2 separate regions of the Homo sapiens genome follow, and region 1 is linked to region 2. The links are contacts of gene promoters, found by promoter capture Hi-C in human tissues and cell types (Jung and others, 2019). All regions are on one chromosome and are shown on one strand. The core of a region is centred on a gene start or on the middle of the fragment in contact, and the rest is flanking DNA. Distances in the headings are between cores, read along the strand shown.

Region 1 (6,343 bases), core at 2,603-5,102, 61 kb before region 2:
GTTTCAGGATATATTACCTCCTGTAATTGATTGTAGTCAACACTTTGCGTTGACTGAGCCATTACCGGCTCTGCTACATATTTACAATGTGAACTTTCCGTTCCTTTCTTGAACTCTGTCTCTGCCTCTTCTTCACAATCTATCACACAGCTTTCAGGGGCATCAGAAACTGAAATGCTATCTTCTTCTATTTGAAATGGTTCTAAAGTTGCTTTAATAATGGCCCAATCATTCCATACTGTAAGTGGGATGATTTTACCTTCCCTACTTGCTTGTTTTAATTCCTTGCCAATTTTTTCCCAATCTTTTAAATCTAAAGTTCCTTGTTCTGGAAACCATGGGCAGAATTGTTCTATTGTTTGAAATAGCGTAATTAGATTTTCTGTAGAAGCTTTAACTCCCCCTCTTCTTAAGAGAATTTTAATGAAGCTGAGATAAGAGGCATATTTACTTTCAGTTTGCCCCATTGTTACCCTGGATTCCTCCGAGCGCACAAGCATACTGCAAGGCTGACCGTGGACGTACTCGGGAATCTCTCATCAGCTGTCCTCAATACTCACGTTCTCAGCATAACTTCACCCTGGAGAAAGGCCCCATATTGGGCGTCAGATGAAGGGGTGGCCTGCCCCTCCATACCTGTGGGATATCTCGTCAGGTGGGATGAGAGACTGAGAAAAGAAATAAGACACAGAGACAAAGTGTAGAGAAACAACAGTGGGCCCAGGAGACCGGCATGCAGCATATCAAGGACCTGCACCAGTACCGGTCTCTGAGTTTCCTCACTTTTTATTGATTATTATTTTTATTATCTCAGCAAGAGGAATGCAGTAGGAGAGCAGGGTGATAATAAGGAGAAGTTCAGCAAAAAACATGAGCAAAAGAATCTGTCATAATTAAGTTCAAGGGGAGGTACTATGCCTGCATGTGCATGTAGGCCGGATTTATGTTTCTCTCCACCCAAACATCTCAGTGGAGTAAAGAATAGCAGGCAGCATTGCTGCCAATGTGTCTCGCCTCCCGCCATAGGGTGGTTTTTCTCCTATCTCAGAATTGAACAAATGTATAATCAGGTTTTATACTGAGACATTCAGTTCCCAGGGGCAGGCAGGAGACAGTGGCCTTCCTCTATCTCAACTTCATGAGGCTTTCCTCTTTTACTAATCCACCTCAGCACAGACCCTTTACAGGTGTTGGGCTGGGGGACGGTCAGGTCTTTCTCATCCCACGAGGCCATATTTCAGACTATCACATGGGGAGAAACCTCGGACAATACGCGGCTTTCCAAGGCAGAGGTCCCTGTGGCTTTCTGCAGTGCATTGTGCCCCTGGTTTATTGAGACTAGAGAATGGCGATGACTTTTACCAAGCATACTGCTTGTAAACATTTTGTTAACAAGGCATATCCTGCACAGCCCTAGATCCCTTAAACCCTGGTTCCCTACAACACATGTTTTTGTGAGCTCAAAGTTAGGGCAAAGTGGCTGGGGCAAAGTTACAAATTAACAACATCTCAGCAAAGCAATTGTTCAAGGTACAGGTCAAAATGGAATTTCTTATGTCTTCCATTTCTACATAGACACAGTAACAGTCTGATCTCTCTTTCTTTTCCCTACACTGAAGAAGGAGGATCGCTTGAAGTCAGGGGTTCAAGAACAGCCTGGGCTGGCCAGGCATGGTGGCTCATGCCTGCAATCCTAACACTGTGGGAGGCCGTCATGAGCAGAACAACTTCAGGCCAGGAGTTCAAGACCAGCCTGGCCAGTATAGCAAAACCCCATCTCTAATTAAAATACAAAAATTAGCCAGGCATGGTGGCACACACGTATAATCCCAGCTACTCAGGAGGCTGAGGCAGGAGAATCACTTGAACCCAGGAAGTCGAGGCTGCAGTGAGCTGAGAAGGCACCACTGCACTCCAGCCTGGGTAACAACGTGAGACCCTATCTCAAAAAAAAAAAAAAAAAAAGAAGAAAATAAAAAATTTATATGTGTGTATTCTGTGAGATAGAGGTCCAAATTCATTCTTTTCTTTTCTTTTCTTTTTTTTTTTTTTTGAGACAGAGTCTCACTTTGTCTCCCAGGCTGGAGTGCAGTGGCGTGATCTCGGCTCACTGCAACCTCCATCTCCCAAGTTGAAGCAATTCTCTGCCTCAGCCTCCTGAGTAGCTGGGATTACAGGTGCCAACCACCATGCCTGGCTAATTTTTTGTATTTTTAGTACACCATCTTGGTTTCACCATCTTGGCCAGGCTGGTCTTGAGCTCCTAACCTCATGATCAGCCTGCCTCGGCCTCCCAAAGTGCTGGGATTACAGGCATAAGCTGCCACGCCTGGCCCCAAATTCATTCATTTACATGTGGATATTTAGTTGTCTCAGCACCATTTGTTCATTTGTTGAAAAGATTATTATTTCCCACCCCCCACCCCCGCTTTTTTTTTGAGCCGGTGACTTGCTCTGTCACCCAGCCTGGAGTGCAGTGGTGTGATCTCGGCTCACTGCAACCTCCGCCTCCTGGGTTCCAGCGATTCTCCTGCCTCAGCCTCCTGGGTAGCTGGGACTACAGGCATGTGCCACCATGCCCTGCTAATTTTGTATTTTTCGTAGAAATGGGGTTTCACCATGTTGACCAGGCTGGTATCGAACTCCTGACCTCAGGTGATCCGTCCACCTCAGCCTCCCAAATTGCTGGAATTACAGGCATGAGCCACCATGCCTGGCCTCCCCACCTTTTTTTTTGAGACAGTCTCATTTTGTCGCTTAGGCTGGAGTACAGTGGCACGATCTTGGCTCACTGCAACCTTTGCCTCCCAGGTTCAAGCAGTTCTCCTGCCTCAGCCTCACAAGTAGCTGGGACTACAGTCATGTGCCACCACACCCAGCTAATTTTTTGTATTTTTATTAGAGATGGGGTTTCGCTGGTCTCAAACTCCTGACCTCAAATGATCCTCCCGCCTTGGCCTCCCAAAGTGTTCGTGTTACAGGCATGAGCCACACCCAGCCTCCCAATTTTTTTTTTTTTTTTTTTTTTGAGACAGAGTCTCACTCTGTCACCCAGGCTGGAGTGCAGTGAGTGGCGTGATCTCGGCTCACTGCATCCTCCACCTCCTAAGTTCAAGTGATTCTTCTGCCTCAGCCTCCCAGTAACTGGGATTACAGGTGCACACCACCATGCCTGGCTAATTTTTGTATTTTTAGTAGAGACGAGGTTTTAGCATGTTGGCCAGGCTGGTCACAAACTTCTGACCTGAAGTGATCCACTCGCCTCAGCCTCCCACAGTGCTGGGATTACAGGCGTGAGCCACCATGCCTGGCCCCCATTTGAGTTTCTTAGCATCTTATCAAATAGCAATTGTGACCATTTATTTCTGGACTGTCAGTTCTATTCAATTGACTTATATATCTATCTTTAAGCAGTATCACACTTTCTTGGTTCCTGTATGTTTGCATTAAGCTTCCAAATTGTGCAGTGTGATTTCTTCAATTTTTTTCTTCTTTTTCAGGCATTTACTTTTTTTTTTTTTTTTTTTTTTGAGACATATCTCCCTCTGTCGCCCAGGCTGGAGTGCAGTGGTGGGATCATGGCTCACTGTAGCCTTGACCTCTCCAGGATCAAGTGATTCTCCCACTTTAGCTTCCCCAGTAGCTGGGACTACAGGTGTGCACCATCACACCTGGTCAATTTTTGTATTTTTGTAGAGACGGTGTTTCAGTATGTTGCCCAGGCTGGTCTCAAACTCCTGGGCTCAAGAGATCCTCCTGCTTTGGCCTCCCAAAGTGCTGAGTTTACAGGTGTGAGACACATTGCCCTGCTTGAATTTGTTGATTGCATCTCCATGGTGTTATTTAACATGTTCTTCTGTCCCTGTATTTTAGTCATTCAACAGTGTGATCTAATTTAGGGCCACTTTTACAGCAGGAATAATTTGCAGGTGGTGTATGTGTTTCCAGAGTCAGAACATGTTTGGTTTATGCTCTTGGTGATATTCAGGGCTATCAGTGATCCTCTCCTGGATCATTTTTTAATTAGAGGTGATTTGTGTTTTGAAAGGGTCACTTGGGTTGCTGGGGGGTGTATTGTATATGAGTAACAGGGTTCTTATAAGGACGGAGTCGGATAATCATGCAACAGAGCACTTGGTGCTATTCCTGGCACGCAATGACCATATTGTTGTTGTTGTTGTTGTTGTTGTTGTTGTTATTGTTAGAGCTGTGTGTGGGGGACCCAAGTCCTGAGCTCGGAGGCATTTTCTGGCCAGGGCTGTTTCCTCCCTTCTCCCCTGCCTCTGGAAAAGTCTGCAGTGCCCCAAGGCTCTGGGAGGCATGTTCAGGACTGCAGCAGCCATCTCTGTGCACCTGGTGGGGCCCCTTCAGGGAAGGAAGGCTGGAGCCCCACTCACTTGGTTCTTGCACCAGACTGTAAGTGCCCTAACCCCAATACTCTGCCACCTGCATGGCCTGGGGCTTCTGGGGTCTGGCTCGTTCCTGGCTTCAAAGCTGTGCATGAGCCTTCTCTTTCAGGGAGCCCTCTTTAACTGCAGCCTGTATGTGGGCTTCTCCCTTGCCCCTGCTTCTCTAGTCTAGAACTTGTAGCTCTGCATCTGAATAGTCAGCTTGGGCGCTGTAGGGTGCTGCTTCCCATGATCCCCTGTGCCCATCCCAGAACCCAGTACCTGGTAGGGACTCAATAAATGTCAACTGAGCCAGGCGCGGTGGGGTTCCTGGGCCATGGAAGACCTGGCACTTACTCAAATGGTCCCAAGGCCCCTCCAGGACAGGGGGGCCTGGTGTTGAGATTACTGTGGCTGCCACCCTGACCAGGTCCTTGCCAGCTTCTCTTCTGACCCTGGGCAGGTACCTGAGCCTCTTCAAGCCTCAGTGTCCTCATCTGTTAGATGGAGACTATTGTGGCACCTCTAGTGAGAGTGCAGTGGGAACTGAGCGAGGTGGAACTGAGCAAAATCCTGAGCCAGGGTTCACTATTGACCACAGCAGGTGGCTGAGAAGAATGTTGGATCCCCAGCTCCACGGCCCACCAGCCATCTGGGACTGGCAAACCCACAGGAACGGAAGGTTCCTCAGGGACCACAAAGCCCATGTGAGGTCCCTGCTGCTGAAGGGATTCTGAGGACAGGAGGAGCCAAATTACCTATCCAGGGTCACCCAGCCAAGGTGGGTTAGGACCTGAGTTTGGTGGCTCTCAGGTCTGGCCAATTTCTTTCTTTCTTTTTTTTTTTTTTTTTTTTTTTTTGGTAGAGTCTTGCTCGTTGGGTCGGGCAGGAGTGCAGTGGCTGGCACGATCTTGGCCCACTGCAATCTCCATCTCCCAGGTTCAAGTGATTCTCAGGCCTCAGCCTCCTGAGTAGCTGGGATTACAGGCATGTGTCATGACGCCCAGATAAGTTTCTTTGTTTGTTTTTCCCAGACTGAGTTTCACTCTAATGCTCAGGCTGGAGTGCAGTGGTGTGCTCTTGCCTCACTGCAATGTCTGCCTCCCAGGTTCAAGTGATTCTTGTGCCTCAGCCTCCCAAGTAGCTGGGATAACAGGTGCGTGCTACCACGCCCAGCTAATTTTTGTATTTTTAGTAGAGATGGGGGTTTCACCATGTTGGCCAGGCTGGTCTCGAACTCCTGACCTCAGGTGATCTGCCCGCCTCAGCCTCCCAAAGTGCTGGGATTACAGGCGTGAGCCACTGTGCCCAGCCCCTGGCCAGTTTCTGCACACCAGTGGCTGAGGAGGGAGCTGGCCTGGGAGGAACACCGGGAGGGGAGGGGCGAGCCAGGAGCCAGGACCCCGGGACCCTCCGAGGAGCGGATTAGTGCCTCCCTCAGAGTTAGGACATGGCCTTGGGTCCAACAGGCCTAAGTCTGAGTGTGTGTGTTGTGTGGCCTTAAACACATCACTCCCCCTCCTGCACCCTCCAGCCTCTGTTTTCCACCTTCTGTTTTCTCATTGATAAGATAGGCCTGACCAGGTCATTCAGGGAATGAAATGGAAGTGCTTAGCAAGACCTCTGTAAGTGGAGGCTGCTGCTGTCACTGTTGCCATTATCCTCCCTCTCCGCTCCACCCACCTCCTGCTCCTCTTCTTTAACCCTCAGCCCTTCCTGAGTCAGACTTTAACCTGGCCAAGTCAGGGCTCTGTCTCAGGACGCATGGAGCCAGGGCTGGAAGTCTCCACTGGGCAGGCGCCAGGCAGCCCCTGCAGGTTGGGGAGGTGGAGGCTGCTGGAGTCAAGAGGAACCAGGTGAGGGTGTTGGAGCATAACAGGCTTGGGAGGCAGGCAGAAACCTGCCCTTCTGCAAACTCTATCTCTTCCCCCTCCTGGGAGCAGACAGGATGGCGC
Region 2 (5,738 bases), core at 3,113-5,612:
AGGAACTGGGCATACAGCTCCCTGCAGGAGACAAGTGAGAAGGATGATTCCCAACGGTCCTGCCCAGGGAGCCCAGAGCAGAGCAGCAGCCGCAGGAGGCAGGGCGGCCCCAGCGGTACTGGCTCTGTCACATGCAAGGGCCCTCCTGTCACTGCCCTTACACGGGGTCTCACCTCTGCTTGGCCAGGATGGAGGTCCATGAGGCTCTCTCCAAGGGAAGGTAGTTCAAGAGAATCTGCACAGAGGGAGAAGGGCAAAGCTCTGGTGACCCTCCTGCACCAACGTCAGTCTTTAGGCGGGGATGACAGGCCTCAAGAAAAACATCTCATAAAGTCCCAAGAAGACAAGATGGGCTAAAATCCAGGAATGCCAGCATGAGCTAGGGGTAGCCTCCCCCTTCCTCCCCACTGCCTCCCTCCTCCTTTAACCCAAACCAGCCCTTCCCTCTGCTTTTCCTCACACAGACTCTTCCACATGATCATCAGACCCTGTGCTCTAAAGGGCTGGAAACCAGGACACTGGGCTTCCATGGCCACCTGAGCTGGGAGCTTTGGGCAAAGCACAGCCTTTGTTTTGTCCCAATAAGCATGACTTTCACTGTACTTCACGGACCAGGAAGCAGAGGTCTTCATTGTTGGCATTACAAAGTGTCCCATCCCCAAGGGGATCCCAGAGAAGACACCAAGAGGAACAGAAAACCCAGGACTTCCCAGAAAAGCTCCCTCAGACAAGCAAGGAAAGGTGCAGAACAGGAGGAAGAAGCCAGGGGTAGGGGCAGCCCATGCAGGAAAACCCAGGGACTCTCAGCAGAGCAGAAGCCCCACCCCAGGCACACCCACCTTCCAGCAGAGGCACCGCAGTCCGCCCTCACAGGGGATGCCTGTGGACACAGCAGGCAAAGGTCATGCCCCAGGCCAGAGTCCCAGAACCCCCAGCCCTTCACCGTGGAGCCAACTGGCGGGGAGTAGAGTGGGCAAGAAGTACTTCTTCAAGAATCATTTCCCCAAGAAAGATGACTAGATTGGATGGTTTCTTTTTTTTGAGATGGAGTCTCCCTCTAACACCTAGGCTGGAGTGAAGTGGCGCAATCTCGGCTCACTGCAGCCTCCGCCTCCCGAGTTCCAGCGATTCTCCAGCCTCAGCCTCCCAGGTAGCTGGGATTACAGGCACGCGCCACTGTGCTCAGCTAATTTTTGTATTTTTAGTAGAGACAAGGTTTCACCATGTTGGCTAGGCTGGGCTTGAACTCCTGACCTCAGGTGATCCCCCCACTTCGGCCTCCCAAACTGTTAGGATTACAGGCGTGAGCCACCATACCCAGCCTAGACTGGATGCTAATTTTTTTTTTTTTTTTTTTGGAGACAAAGTCTTGCTCTGTTGCCCAGGCTGGAGTGCAATGGCGTGATTTCTGCTCACTGCAACCTCCGCCTCCCCGGTTTAACTAATTCTTCTGCCTCAGCCTTGCAAGTAGCTGGGATTACAGATGTGTGCCACCACTCCTGGCTAATTTTTGTATTTTTAGTAGAGACAGGGTTTCACCATATTGGCCAGGCTGGTCTCGAACTCCTGACCTCAGGTGATCCACCTGCCTCAGCCTCCCAAAGTGCTGAGATTACAGGTGTGAGCCACCATGCCCGGCCTGAAATGTTCTTTTGAGGATAACACCTTCTCATCCTTGATATTCCTTCCTCAGGAGCAGCCTTTACCACCACCATGTCATCCTAATTCAGGTCAGTTCCCCCTGTTATAAGCAATAATGGCTCTGTGACTATTTCATAGCATCTGTCATAAGTGGAATTATTATATATATATATATATATATGGTGTATTTTCTTAACGTCTGTAACCCCTACTACTGGGTAAGCCCCAGAAGGACAAAAACCACATCTATTATTCCCAGTGCATAGCACAGAGCACTGCACATAGAAGATATTCCATACATATTTGTGGAATATAAACTAAGCTACGAATGCTAAGTATTTTGTGCTTTACAGATATTATTTCATTTAATCTTCATTATTACCCCAGTAAGTAGGGAAGATTAACGTAATTGTCGTAAGAAGGAAACTTATCTGTAAAACTCTTAACTACTAACACTGACTGCCTCTCCTTTGGGGCCTATATTTCACTCCTAAACAGAAAGACAAAGTTATCCTGCAATAAGATCAGGAAGCTCACTACCGCAGTTGCTGCTGTAGTATCCCTGGTACCATGAACATGAGTGAATACCTCCACTTCAGAATCTATATGAGGATGACAGGGACAATATAAGAAGTTCTTTTTTTTTTTTTTTTTTTTGAGATGGAGCTTCACTCTTGTCGCCCAGGCTGGAGTGCAATGGCGCAATCTCGGCTCACTGCAATTCCCAGGTTCAAGTGATTTTCCTGCCTCAGCCTCCCGAGTAGCTGGGATTACAGGCAAGTGCCACCAAGCCCAGCTACTTTTTTATATTTTTAGTAGAGACTAGGTTTCACCATGTTGGCCAGGCTGTTCTCGAACTCCTGACCTCAGGTGATCCACCTGCCTTGGCCTCCCAAAATGTTGGGATTACAGGCATGAGCCACGGCACCCGGCCAGAAGTTCTTGCTGGCAAAGTTACAAGGGCAAAAAAGTGACAAGAAGCTATGCAGAACACGTTGGGATATTTTTTAAAACAGGCAAAAAGAGAGTTATCTTTGTGCTCATTGGGGCAAAGTCTAACACAGCAGGATCAGCTCCTTAAAGTCAGTGTCCCAAGGCTACCCATTTTACCACTAGCCAAGGTTTAGTTCAGGCAGCTTAGACCCCAAGCCAGGGAGAGAACAAGGAACAACCCTGCAGTTAACCAAACTCACCAACACAGGAAGCTAGCTAAGGAATGAGGAAAGACTGTCCTGGGCTCAAAAGGTCCCAACTCTCATTCTCCAGGCTTCAGTCCTGTCCTGTTACTCTCAGGAATCTGGCACCTCCTGCGGAAAGCTTAGGAAAGCTTAGGGCATGCTAAGTGTGGCCACTGCCCCTCTGGGAAACCCCTCCAAGCTCAAGGCAGTCACTGCCTGTTCAGCTCTACAGAATCTGGAAAAGGCCCCAAGAGTCTGTGTGTAATTTCCTTCCAAGGCCCCAGCCCCCAGCAGCTGGGCCCCAGAGCTGACCAGGTGTGGCCTCCCCCTGTATTCTAGCCACAGGGCTGCTGTAGGGAAACCGTGAAAATACAGAATGGCTTCTTACCACTAAAGCTGAGTTCCCGCAGCTTTTCCAATGCAATTGAGGGCTCCTTCAGGACATCCTGGAAATCTGCAATTCTGGAAGGGGAGATAGGGCGGCAAATGAAGCATGCTGATATCGGCTCAGTGAGACCCACAGCCCTCAGCTCCCTCACACTGCCAGTTTCCAACCTGTGCCTCTCTCCCCTTTAGGACATAAAAATCACACAGCTTAGTCAAGGTCCTCACCAAAGACAGCTTTGGAGAACAACAAAACTATATTTCACTTCTTCCTCTACAACCAGAAACACAGAATGCCAGGGAAGAAACTTGAGAGATATTCTTGTCTAGAAGTTCCCAAATGAGGACCATAAAATTAGACATATTCCAACATTCTAATACTTAGTGAGCTGACATTTACTGGGCACTTCCTGCCGGCCAGGCCGGGTCCACGCACAGCCACCAACTGAACTCCTTGGACCTCAGGAACCAGGAGTAATTTGATATGCAGACAATGGACCATGCTCACAAATATAACCATTACAAGACCTCTGGGCCTGCCAGAAGGCAAGGACAAAGGGTTTAAAAAACACGTCCTGAAGGAAAACTGAAGAGTGAGCAAAATTCAGCCAATGCTGCAGGATCTGGCCTGGGGGAGGGGCCAGACTGGAGAATGCAAGTTCTCTAGCAATCCTAGTAAGAAAAAGGCACGGGGGACAGGGTGCACTTGGAGAGAGTACGGGAGCAGGGGGATCAAAAGGGGGAAAGGCACGGGGGCGGGGCATGGGGGTCTGGATGAGGAAGACTCAGGGGAAGGGGGACACCAGGGGTCCAGGATGAGGGAGGCAGAAGCAGTGACATCAGGGGCAGGAGAAGGGCCGCCCCTCCGTCGTTCCTGCAGCCCACAGGCAATGAGGTTAGAAGGTGGACGCTCGAGACCCTCTGCCGAGGGGGTCTGCCGATTCCTGGCCACACCCGCGCTTCCCCCTTCTGAGGGGCAGAAGGGGCAGCCTGGCCAGGAGTGGCCCAGCCGGGTCAGGCCCCATGGCCCCTTACCGGCTCTTGTGCAGACTTGACATGGTGTTGACTTCCGGACCCCCCAGCCGCCTCCGCCGCCTGCGCCTCTGCCGCCTGCGCTGCCGCCGCCGCCGCCGCCCCCCAGGGACGCGGGGCTCTGCGCAAAAGCCTCCGGCGGGAAACACAGCCACTAGCCTGCGCGTTCCACCGCCTCAGCCCCGCCCCGCCCCGCCAGTCACGTGCCACCCCTCGACTCTCACGCTTCCACACGGTACTGGCGGCTACGGCCGGCCGGGTTGAGCGGGGCAACCTCGGGTCTGGTGGGCGTGGCAATCGCGGGCCGGGAGCCCCAGCGCCGCCGACCCTGCGGGCCAAATTTGAGAACCCGCCGGTGACAGCGCAGACTGTGTGTCTCTGGACTATTCCTTGCGCTTCCCTGGGCCTCAGTGTCTACTTACGCAATATACCTGTCACCCTGTCGTCTTCCCTGCACTCACCCCCCTGTAATTAACTACTGCATGATTGTTACAGGAGTCTCGGCCTCCCCTGCTAAACTGTTCAGGCCCCCCAGCTTATCTTGGTCTCTGCAGAATCCTCAAGGCCTGTATAGCAGGGACTCGCATGAACCGCCGTGCGCGGCCCAACTTTTTTTTTTTTTATAAAAACTATACCAGCAAACCCTATAAAATGTAAGTTAGGAAGAAAGAAAAAAACACAAATGATATCTTAAGAAAAATAGGCTGGACCGGGCGCGGTGGCTCATCCCTGTAAATTCCAGTGCTTTGGGAGGACGAGGCAGGCAGACCACTTGAGGTCAGGAGTTGGAGACCACTCTGGCCAACACGGTGAAACCCCGTCTCTACCAAAAATGCAAAAATTAGCCGGGCGTGGTGGCAGGCGCCTGTAATCCCAGCTCCTCGAGATTACCTTCTTTACAAAAGATGTAAAAATTAGTTGAGTAGGCCGGGCGTGGTGGCTCACGCCTGTAATCCCAGCACTTTGGGAGGCTGAAGCGGGCAGATCACCAGGTCAGGAATTTGAGAACAGCCTAACCAACATGGTGAAACCTCGTCTCTACTAAAAATACAAAAATTAGCCGGGTGTGGTGACGCACAACTGTAATCCCAGCTACTCAGGAAGCTGAGGCAGGAGAATTGCTTGAACCCGGGAGGCGGAGCTTGCAGTGAGCCGAGATAGTGCCACCGCACTCCAATAGCGCCACCGCACTCCAACCTGGGCAAAAACGCAAGACCCTGTCAAAAAAAAAAAAAAAAGAAAAGAAAAGAAAAGAAACTGCTTAAAGATTTTCCGAAATGGTTGTATTATTTAACACCTTTTTCTTGAGAAAAAAAAAAAAAGAAAGAAACAGCTAGCCAGGCGCGGTGGCTCACGCCTGTAATCCCAGCACTTTGGGAGGCCAAGGAGGGCGGATCATGAGGTCAGGAGATCGAGACCATCCTGTCTAACACGGTGAAACCCCATCTCTACTAAAAAATACAAAGAAAAAAATTAGCCGGGCGTGGTGGTGGGTGCCTGTAG

The links. Contacts are between HindIII fragments. The study calls those that stand out against the background at their distance.
Region 1: a fragment that was not itself captured here is called in contact with the fragment with the promoter of TBC1D13 in region 2 in 1 of the 25 tissues and cell types used here (ovary).

Annotation. Positions count from the first base shown.
Region 1 is chr9:128,845,506-128,851,848 of GRCh38, reverse strand. All of the region lies in intron 1 of KYAT1-SPOUT1 (KYAT1-SPOUT1 readthrough), which reads left to right. The region is part of intron 1 of KYAT1 (kynurenine aminotransferase 1); the gene reads left to right. Among named protein-coding and RNA genes, the nearest start is that of SPOUT1, 19 kb to the right of the region's middle. The HindIII fragment of the contact is 3,862 bases long and covers 1,922-5,783 here.
Region 2 is chr9:128,785,877-128,791,614 of GRCh38, reverse strand. TBC1D13 (TBC1 domain family member 13) reads right to left here and starts at 4,362. Exons shown (of 12, transcript NM_018201.5): 1 at 4,239-4,362; 2 at 3,208-3,281; 3 at 840-880; 4 at 174-235; 5 at 1-21. The coding sequence starts at 4,261. RefSeq lists a silencer at 4,225-4,714. The HindIII fragment of the contact is 9,895 bases long and covers 1,362-5,738 here.